3 separate regions of the Homo sapiens genome follow, and regions 2 and 3 are each linked to region 1. The links are contacts of gene promoters, found by promoter capture Hi-C in blood cells and fetal thymus (Javierre and others, 2016). All regions are on one chromosome and are shown on one strand. The core of a region is centred on a gene start or on the middle of the fragment in contact, and the rest is flanking DNA. Distances in the headings are between cores, read along the strand shown. Region 1 holds the start of TRY-GTA5-4 (tRNA-Tyr (anticodon GTA) 5-4). Region 2 holds the start of TPPP2 (tubulin polymerization promoting protein family member 2). Region 3 holds the start of TTC5 (tetratricopeptide repeat domain 5).

Region 1 (3,273 bases), core at 277-2,776:
TCCCTCAAAGCACCAAGCCTAGGTTCCAAAAAACCTGGTACCGCCACATCTTATCAAGGACATATCCAGTATAGACCAAAGGTTCTACTTTGGTTTCTGTTTGCTGATCTCTGCAGCAATGTCATTCGAGGCTGGGATCTCTCTGGGGCTGCAGAGCTACAGAATGTTGCTGGGGCACTGGTGAGTCCACAGCTCTGCCCCTTTCCATCAGCAGTGGGAAGCAGGAAAGGCTGATACAACAGAGAAGAGGTAGGGAATAGGCCGTAGGGGGAGAACAGGATCTGCTTTCTAGGAGGGGAAGACATGTGTACTCTCTAGTTTGAGACGCAGAGTGAAAAAGCAGTTATGCCCATCGGGTAGGGGAGAGTGGTCACCGGGTTCCCAGAAGGCCTCTGAGAACCAAATTTCCATCACTGTTTTGCTTGCAGTGCTCTCTGTGATAATTTTCATCTGTATATCAAGCGTCTGAAGATTTTTTTTTTTTTCCCCAGAGCATAGGATGGGACCAGGGGACACTCATTGTGGTTCCTCTCTGGCTCATACTTTGATGAACCCACTTCATCTTCCCAGAGGTGAAGCCCAGTTGGTGAAAGCCAAGCCCATTTCCTGCTTCATGCTCTCAGATTGTGCCAGCCATCTTCCTCTTGTAGAAGGCGCAACCTTCCAGCTGTGCCTGCAGAGCCCCCACATAAAAGTGAGCATGCTGCTCAGATGCAACAAGCCAGTGGCCTAAGGAGGTGAACTTGTGTACCTCTGCAAGGTGGCAGCTGCCACCCAAGCTTCAATTCTGCTCCCTGCCAGGGACCCAACAGCCCCCAACCCTCCCGGGTCACTGAAGTTCTTTCCAAGTCTGCCCTTTTATACTCTCTTTCCCTCTCTCACACCTTCACAACCAGTAAGACACTTGGTATAGGTGTTTTTGCAGACTTTGAACTGAGTGGAAGGTATCTTTCTTCTTCCAGCAGGAGCCCAAAGTTTACTGTAGCAACATTAAAAGGTGCGAAGGCTCGGGAAATGTGAGGCTTGGTGTATGTGGGAAGGGGGCACATTTTTGTTCTCAACCTGAAGGAAAATATTATGGAGCCAGTGGAAGCCCTATTTATTAAGAAAATCTCAGGGCGGCAACTCTCTCCCACAAATAGACAAAACAAAACAGAAATGAACATTTTCTGTCTGTATACATCTATACATTACAAGCAAAAGATAATGAGAGAACTAGAGTCAGAGAAAAACAGAGAGAGAGAGAGAGAATGCTCAGATAGAAAAGCATTTGCTAGAGACCTGGAGAAGGAGATGAGAGAGAGACAGCATAGAGAGCATTTTTTTTTTTTCCTGAGGATGTCACAGTTGTCTCTGACCCTTTTCTCTTCCAGCAGGCTTGATCTTCTAGGAGTTGATGGTGGGCCCACTGGTTTAATAGATCGAGAGATCTATCAATGGTGAGCACACAATGTTGCTAGAGTCCATGGCCCTCAGCACCCAGAGCAGTCTGTGGATAAAAGTGAAAGAGCTCTGGATGGTGGGGGTGCGAAGGGGGTTGGGGAGAGGGGCTGACTGGGTCACAAAGCAGAAGCAAGGGGCCCTTTGCGTTGAAGAGTACCTGTCCCTGGACTGTGGGAAGAATGAGTGGGCTTACGGGCGTGTTTCCTGGCCACAGCACAGGTGTGGAAACCAGGTGATCAGGAAAGGTTTCTCTGGGTTTTGACTGGGAGGGTGTGGGTGGATACTAGTTGGAGGCTGCAGGGCGTTTGACCAGGCACCAGGTGGCATTGCATGCAAAAGCATCGGGCACTTCCTTCGAGCCGGAATCGAACCAGCGACCTAAGGATGTCCGCAAATGTCTGTACAATCTACAGTCCTCCGCTCTACCAGCTGAGCTATCGAAGGGTGCACGCTGCAAGAGCTGGATCACTGGACTTTCCGCAAATGGAGGAAGCCAAGTCCTTGGAACGCTGGAGTCAACACACTTAGAGTTGATTGGAACCCGCCTTAGAAGAGAACCTTGCGCTGGTTGCCACCGCGCACCTCTCAGGGTGGAGCAAATCCTCCGAGTGTGGTTTCCTCGCGTCCCAGAGCGCTGATAGCCACAATCCAGGACGGGAGGCTCTCGCCTGTGGCCTTCCTCCACCTGTGCATCTCTGTTTTTACAAGTGAGGATGACAGCCCTCAGCGAAAGAAAACAAGAGGGTGAGAGGGCTCGGTCAGAGGGATGGGCTAGGTGGATGGGTGGATCCTGTGGGACAGGGGTTGCAGGAGGAGGAAAGAAGAACTCGGAAAGCTTCTGGGTGGGCGGCCGCTATCCGCAGACCAGCTGCAGGGTCTGCTGAAAGTCCTTAAGCAGCCCTTTCCTAAAACTCTGGCCTTCCTACTCCCTTCCCGGCCAACACACACATGCCCCTTCTCCCGATGTGCCTCCGCCCTTTTCCCTACAGTGTCCTATGCTTGCTTTTTGGCGCATTCAAGTGTGCTAGAAGTGAGAGAGAGAACAAATGGGACTAGGTGAGAAGAACTCGCCCAGGGCTTGCAGATGCACTGTGATACCCTCCTTCCTCCCCAGCGCCCAACTGGGGCTTGGCTTCCCTCCTCTGCAAACTGACCAAGAACTCTTTTTTTTTTCTCCCCCAGAGGCTTCCTCTTTCTGAAGTAGGGCAAGTATATTAGTCCGTTTTCATGCTGCGGATAAAGACATACCCGAGACTGGGATGAAAAAGAGGTTTAATTGGACTCACAGTTCCACATGCCTAGGGGGCCTCAGAATCATGGCTGGAGGTGAAAGGCACTTCTTCTTCTTCTTCTTCTTCTTCTTCTTTTTTTTTTTTTTTTTTTGAGATGGAGTTTCACTCTCGTTGCCCAGGCTGGAGTGAAATGGCGCGATCTCAGCTCACCGCCACCTCCGCCTCCCAGGTTCAAGCGATTCTGCCGCCTCAGCCTCCGGAGTAGCTGGGATTACAGGTATGCGCCGCCACGCCCGGCTAATTTTGCATTTTTAGTAAAGACTTGGGGTTTCTCCATGTTGGCCAGGCTGGTCTTGAACTCCCGACCTTAGGTGATCCACCCTCCTCGGCCTCCCAAAGTGCTGGGATTACAGGCGTGAGCCACCCCTCCTGTCCAAGGCACTTCTTACATGGCAGAGGCAGGAGAAAATAAGAGAGAAGCAAAAGCGGAAACCCCTGGTAAACCCATCAGATCTTGTGAGACTTATTCACTATCCTGAGAATAGCACTGGAAAAACTGGCCCCCGTGATTCAATTATCTCCCCCTGGTCCCTCTCAC
Region 2 (3,273 bases), core at 550-3,049, 370 kb after region 1:
ATTTTTTTATTATTATTTATTTATCTAGAGACAAGGTCTCACTTTGTTGGCCTCCCAAAGTGCTGGAATTATAGGCATGAGCCACTGTGCCCTGCCCAAGAATAATGTTGATGAGAGGTGGGTGATGTTTGGTAGGGTAGATTGGGGCCTAGTTAGTTGTATAGGTCCTTGAATGCTAAGCAAAAAGATTTAGCAATGAGAAGCTATAGTATATCTTGAGCCACAGAATATTCTTGAGCAGGAGTAATAAAAAATACTGTTTTGTGAAAATTAATCTGATGGGGAGGAGGTAATAGAGATGGATTATGGGTGGGTGGGAGTGAAGAATTAGATTTAGAAAAGAGATCATTTAGAAACCAGAGTAGTCATCCAACTATGAGATGATAAGAACTTGAATAAGGGTGGAAGCAATAGGAATGGAAAGAAAGGCATAGATTTGTAAGACAAAGAAAAAAAATAGAAAGTGGTGGCATTATTAGATGGGAAAAGGAGGAAAGTCACCAGTCTCGTTGCTCTGTTTTAGGATCCGTGAGGTTCATCTATCTGTAGTGCTTCTGGCCAGAGAAAAGGCCGAAGAGAGAAAACCCTGAGGAACATCTTTGACCTGCATAGAAACTTATCTGAAGATTTTCAGAATCTGAGCCTCACCCTCAGTCTATCCCAGTTTTATCCTGACCTGTCCACATCTGTTATACTCCAAGGCTTGCTGGGCCCAACACTGGAAGCTATTTAATGTTTCTATTGCGACTGGCCTTTTAAAGCCAGTGGGATTCTCCATGCTACACTTGAGCCTGGAGACTAGAAAACATGACAGCCTGTTTTCATTAATCCGTTTTCATTAACTGCTGTGGTCTGAATGTTTATGTTGTCCACAGATTCATATATTAAAATCCTAACTCCCGGCTGGACGCAGTGGGTCACACCTGTAATCCCAGCACTTTGGGAGGCTGAGGCAGGTGGATCACTTGAGGTCAGGAGTTCGAAACCAGCCTGGCCAACATGGCAAAACCCCGTCTCTACTAAAAATGCAAAAATTAGCCAGGCATAGTGGCTGGGCTAATCCCAGCTACTGGGGAGGCTGAGGCATGAGAGTCGCTTGAATCCTGGGACTGGAGGTTGCAGTGCCCCAGGATCATGCCACTGCATTTCAGCCTGGGCAACAGACAGCGAGACTCCATCTCAAAATAAATACGCAAATAAATAAAATAAAATCCTAACTCCCAAAGTCATGGTATTAGGAGATGGGGCATTTTGGGGGGTGATTAAGTTTTATGAGGGCAGAGCCTTTCTGAATGGGATTCATACCCTTATAAATAGGCCCAAGGGAACTCATTCACCCCTTCTACCATGTGAGGACACAGCAAGAAGGTGCCATCTATGGACCGGAAAGCAGCCCTCACCAAACACTGAATCTGCCAGCACCTTGATCTTAGACTTCTCAGCCTTCAGAGCTCTGAGAAATAAATGTCTGTTGTTTATAAGCCACCCAGTTTGATATTTTGTTCTAGCAGCCCAAACAGACTACAACACCTTCCCTGGGCTCGCCTCAGCTTCTGTTGTGGGGCAGAGCATAAGGCAATTTGACTAGGACCCAGAGGATGGGTAAGCTTGGCTGAAATGATGGAAATGTGATCATCTGAAAAGGTCAGAAAGTTGGCAGTTTGCTCAATTCGGCATGCAAGGTAGGGAGACCAAAAGCCCCCTCCTTTGAAGGCAATGGCTGTAGCTGGGGCCAGAAGTGATGTCACATAACCACTGCTGAGGTCATAGAATCTTCCCTCTCCTCCCTCTGTCTCCTCATTGCCACAGCCAACCGGCTCCCACATATCTGCACACACTTAAATACAAAGGCCGGGAAGGGTCAGACCACCATCCGGGTACTCTAAGGTACATAAAAGAGGTAGGGGAAAGAGAGGATCATTCAGTAGGTAGGATCCACACTGGTATCTCCAATGCTGGGAATGGGAGACTCATGCTGTAGTTGCGTAGGTGCAATGGGAGCTGGGAGGGAGAAAGGAGAGAGCAACAGGGAAGAGGGGAGCTGTTCCTGTTGCTGACTGATTTTACCATAACACTCATCCTCATTACTCCACAGTCCTCCCTCCCCCTTCTCCTTCACCCCCAAGTGTCTCCCACGACTGCCCTCCCCGACCTCTAGCTGACCATGGCATCAGAGGCAGAAAAAACATTCCATCGGTTTGCTGCGTTTGGAGAATCATCAAGCAGTGGCACTGAAATGAACAACAAGAACTTCTCCAAGCTGTGCAAAGACTGTGGCATCATGGATGGCAAGACAGTCACCTCCACGGACGTGGACATCGTGTTCAGCAAAGTCAAGTGAGGAGCCAAAAATATGGAGGTGGGGGTGAGAAGAACCTGCGAGGTAGTTGGCCACGGAAGGGTTCACGTGGTGGAACATTTGCAGTGGGCCTACCAAGCACCACAGGGTACCTGGCGCTGTGCTATCCTTTGTCTTCGAGACACTCACTGATTGATAGGACAAAAGAGGCCAAATCTGAGTGAGGCAAGAGTTGGACCTTGGAAGGTAATGCATTCATGCTCCAAAGTTTCTGGATTTCTGTCTAACTGACCAGGGCCAAGAACGCCCGAACCATCACGTTTCAACAGTTCAAAGAGGCAGTGAAGGAACTGGGCCAGAAGCGCTTCAAAGGGAAGAGTCCAGATGAAGTCCTGGAGAACATTTATGGACTCATGGAGGGCAAAGACCCAGCCACCACTGGCGCTACTGTGAGTGACAGCCTTCATCCCCTTGACCCTACTTCCCTAAATCCCCATTGTTCCAGTCTACCCTCCCTAACCCTGCCAACTGTGTGACTGTAGAGACAGGGCCGAAACAGACTTTAGAGATCATCTAGACATTCCAGAAGTCAGGAAAATGTGGCCCAGAGAAGGGAAGTGACTTGCCCAAGGTCCATGGCTATTTTAATAGTAGATTTAGACTAATTTCCAAGTGTCTAGTATCTGAGCCAGGCAATTAGGGCTTGGTAGCTTTTGGAGGACATTAGTGTAGAGAATTTGGTACCTGATGCCCACTCCTCTTCCAATTCTTATTTAGGGTTTAATCTCAGGCCTCCTGCCTCTCACCTACTCCCTTTTTTAATTGTCCTGTCTGAACTAAAAGCTCTTTCTACAGTGGATATTGAGTCGGGGAGTGGGAGTGAAGTCCTCAGGCAGCAGCCTAGTCAGAATAACTCCTCTGGAAACAAAAAACCTACCCTCCCTCTGCACACGCCACACTCATTCCCACACCAC
Region 3 (3,273 bases), core at 255-2,754, 360 kb before region 1:
CACTTTGAGAAATATCCATTTATACACTCTTTTTACACTAAAATGTCTTTAACAATGAAATCAAAGTTTACCACCATCTCCATGAACAGCAACACCATTATCTAATCCTTTTCCTCTTCTCTACTTCACTCCTTTATTCCATTCCTGCACCGACCCCACCCCAAGATAACGGAAGTATCCTCTCCCAAGCTGCTTAGGACATTTACCACAAATGAACCTAGGAAAAGACAATTCTCATAAAAAATTACAACCAATTTCCTTTTGTCCTGCAATCAACATGGCTGCAAATTAAGAGTTTTAGAGAAGGGCTTATTGATTGGTTTTAGTTGTTAAACCAAACATTCAAGAAGTTGTTTGGTTTTATTGTTTGGTTTTGTTTTCCTCTGGACTGAATGTTTTTAGAAACTTATTTTTTCATGGCAAAATCAATACATGTAAGTTGTTAAAATTCAAATAGATACATGTAAAAAAAAGAAAGTACAAAATTACCCCAAAGAACCTCAGTGATAACCACTGATTTGTATACCTTTTCAGATTTTTTTCTGTGCATATACAAACATATATACACAAATAATGTTTCTAATATAGAACCAGAATTGAGAATCTCTGATTTCAGCCAGTCACAGTTAGGGAATAAAATGAAGTTAATCCAAATCAGCTGGAACACTCTAAAAAGTGTTACTATTTTAATGTACCCAAGAACAAAGAAATTTCACCAGTATTTAAATTTGTGCGTTAAACACCTTTAGGCAAGTTACAAGCCTGTCATAGTTCTAATATTTAAGTTACAGGCTGCCTTAGAACGAAGAACTGAGTTCCTGAGGTGTAAGGAAAATCATGGGTTCTTAAAGGCAAAGAGCCAAGCAACTAGTTAACGCCTCCCTACCAAGTCCAAAAGACTAGTCTTACCTGTGGACTATGTGGAGTCTGGACCCCTCTGCATCAGACCCCAAAGTGGAATTACACAGGTTGAAAGAAATCAAAACTGAAATCCTAAGGGGAGTAACCAGGACACTTGCAGTGCAGGTCATTAGCGTGATTGTTGCCAAATTCAAAGCAGAAAGGTGTTAAATGGCTTTTGTAGGGATCAAAACAACATGTGACAGTAGTTCATGCAGATCTGCCACACACATGTATATGCTATTCGCTATGGATGAATCGAGAAAACAACGTCCTCTCTAAAAATGTACATGAACAGTTAGGAGCAACAAATCTTCTTCCATACAGGACTGAAATTAACCGCAGTCAGGTCGGCAGCAGGAGGTTCCAACGAGGCTCCCTGGCTGGCTGCGGCTGCACCCTCGAGGGTTGTTATAGTAACCACACAGACGCACGCAGCTTCGCGTGTGTGCCGAGGAATTCACGGGCAGTACATAAACTGGACTCCCTGCTTCATTCGGAGTAACAAAAACACATACAGAATTTAATCTACGGCCCCACCTGCAATTTCTGCAAGATCGGCTTGACTTCTTCCTCTTCATCAGCCATCATCTCCCGGCCACTCCACCCCCAACTTTATAACCACAGAGACGCACGCCCTCTCTCACCGCGGAACCACAGCGACATCTGGCGTTCTGGAGGCTTTTCTGCCCCAGAAGGGCTTTGCTTCAAACCGACTTAACCATTTATTTCCACAGAGATGCTCTACAATCACTTGTGAGTTCATAAACTTCTTTCTTTCCCAGATCCTGGAAACAAAATGTCCTCAGCTTAATTTCTATATTCTTGTTTCATGTCTTCCTACTTATTTATACTAAGATTATAATACTCCATAAAGAAGAGAGTTTAAGAAGTGCACACCTGTGTTGTTTGAAATTTCGAAAGCCATGTAGTACAATAGCTACTTTACTCAATCTTTTCCAAACTTTGCAGTAATTTTCTATGTATGATTAATTTTATCATTTTAATGCACTATCTTAATAAATACTACACTTGGGATGGCTCATAAAAACCACCATGCTCTACACTAACAATGCCTCCATATTTATAGACAACATCCAGAAGGATATATAAGAAAGGATGACTGTCTCTGCAGAGGGAAACACAGAAACTGGGGAACTGTGGGTGAGCGAAGAAAATTTTCACTGCCTGCCCTTTTGAATTTTCTTGCCATCTATATGTATCACCTATTCAAATATAAACATTTTTAAATAAAAAATTATTTGCTTCTACATAGTCTCTGGAAAGAGACACAAGACACTGGCAAGACTATCGCTTACAAAGAGCAGAAGTGAGTGGCTGGAGCAAAAATGAGTGACCAGGGAACTGGGGTAGACTTTTCACTCTATGCCTTTTTTGTAACTTTAAAGTTTGTACCTTGTGAATATATTAAACTTCTGAATAAATCTTTTAAAGTGTCATGTAATATTCCTGGCAGTTTTGCTTTACTTTTTTAGTTTTAATTACAGCTTCAAGCTGATTCTGTGAAACTAACAAAGAAGTAAAACGTTCAAGGCAGAAATCATGAATATACATAAAATCATTTCCTCAAATCATTTTCCAACATAAAGGAAATAGTTTGTATTGTAACCTATAAAATCTATGTCGTTAGCTGTAAAATAGGGAGGGATGTTTTAAAAATTTTTTTTTGAGATGGAGTCTCACTGTGTAGCCCAGGCTGGAGTGCAATGGCGCCATCTCGGCTCACTGCAACCTCGGCCTCCCAGGTTCAAGCGATTCTCCCGCCTCAGCCTCCCGAGTAGCTGGGGCTACAGGTGCATACCACCACGCCCGGCTAATTTTTTGTATTTTTAGTAGAGACGGGATTTCACCGTGTTAGCCAGGATGGTCTCGATCTCCTGACCTCATGATTCACCCGCCTCAGCTTCCCAAAGTGCTAGGATTACAGGCGTGAGCCACCACACCCGGCCCTAAAACTTTAAAATTTTTCATCCTCTTTCTCAGACATTTTAACTTTGGTGCACACGAGGCTGGGCACGGTGGCTCACACCTGTAATCCCAGCACTTTGGGAGGCCAAGGCGGGCAGATCACTTGAGGTCAGTTCAAGACAAGCCTGGCCAATGTGGTAAAACCCCATCTCTACTAAAGATACAAAAATTAGCCAGGTGTGGTGGCATGCACCTGTAATCCCAGCTACTTGGGAGGCCAAGACAGGAGAACCACTTGAACCCAGGAGGCAGAGGTTGCAGTGAGCCAAGATGCTGCCACTGCACTCCAGCCTGGGCAACACAGCAAGACTCCATCTCAAAAAAACAGTAATAAATAATTTTGGTGCACATTAAGAATAATTTTTAAGAGATTTTATACTCTAT

What was found. Contacts are between HindIII fragments. The CHiCAGO score rates a contact against its expected background, and 5 or more counts as called.
Region 2: the fragment with the promoter of TPPP2 here is called in contact with a fragment that was not itself captured in region 1 in 2 of 17 cell types (monocytes and M1 macrophages); the score reaches 5.3 in monocytes.
Region 3: a contact is called between the fragment with the promoter of TTC5 here and a fragment that was not itself captured in region 1, in 8 of 17 cell types (total CD8 T cells, activated CD4 T cells, non-activated CD4 T cells and 5 more). The highest score is 7.6, in total CD8 T cells.

Annotation. Positions count from the first base shown.
Region 1 is chr14:20,661,399-20,664,671 of GRCh38, forward strand. TRY-GTA5-4 (tRNA-Tyr (anticodon GTA) 5-4) reads right to left here and starts at 1,887; the gene lies at 1,794-1,887. LOC124903281 (a long non-coding RNA gene) reads left to right here. Exons shown (of 2, transcript XR_007064059.1): 2 at 1-1,015. RefSeq lists silencers at 24-243, 2,192-2,261 and an enhancer at 1,802-2,081. The HindIII fragment of the contact is 1,499 bases long and covers 778-2,276 here.
Region 2 is chr14:21,028,418-21,031,690 of GRCh38, forward strand. It overlaps TPPP2 (tubulin polymerization promoting protein family member 2), which reads left to right and starts at 1,800. Exons shown (of 4, transcript NM_173846.5): 1 at 1,800-1,887; 2 at 2,096-2,337; 3 at 2,595-2,748. The coding sequence starts at 2,165. It also overlaps a transcript of NDRG2 not described here. The HindIII fragment of the contact is 5,962 bases long and covers 1,606-3,273 here.
Region 3 is chr14:20,304,447-20,307,719 of GRCh38, forward strand. TTC5 (tetratricopeptide repeat domain 5) reads right to left here and starts at 1,505. Exons shown (of 10, transcript NM_138376.3): 1 at 1,441-1,505. The coding sequence starts at 1,491. RefSeq lists an enhancer at 1,411-1,650. The HindIII fragment of the contact is 10,592 bases long and covers 1-3,273 here.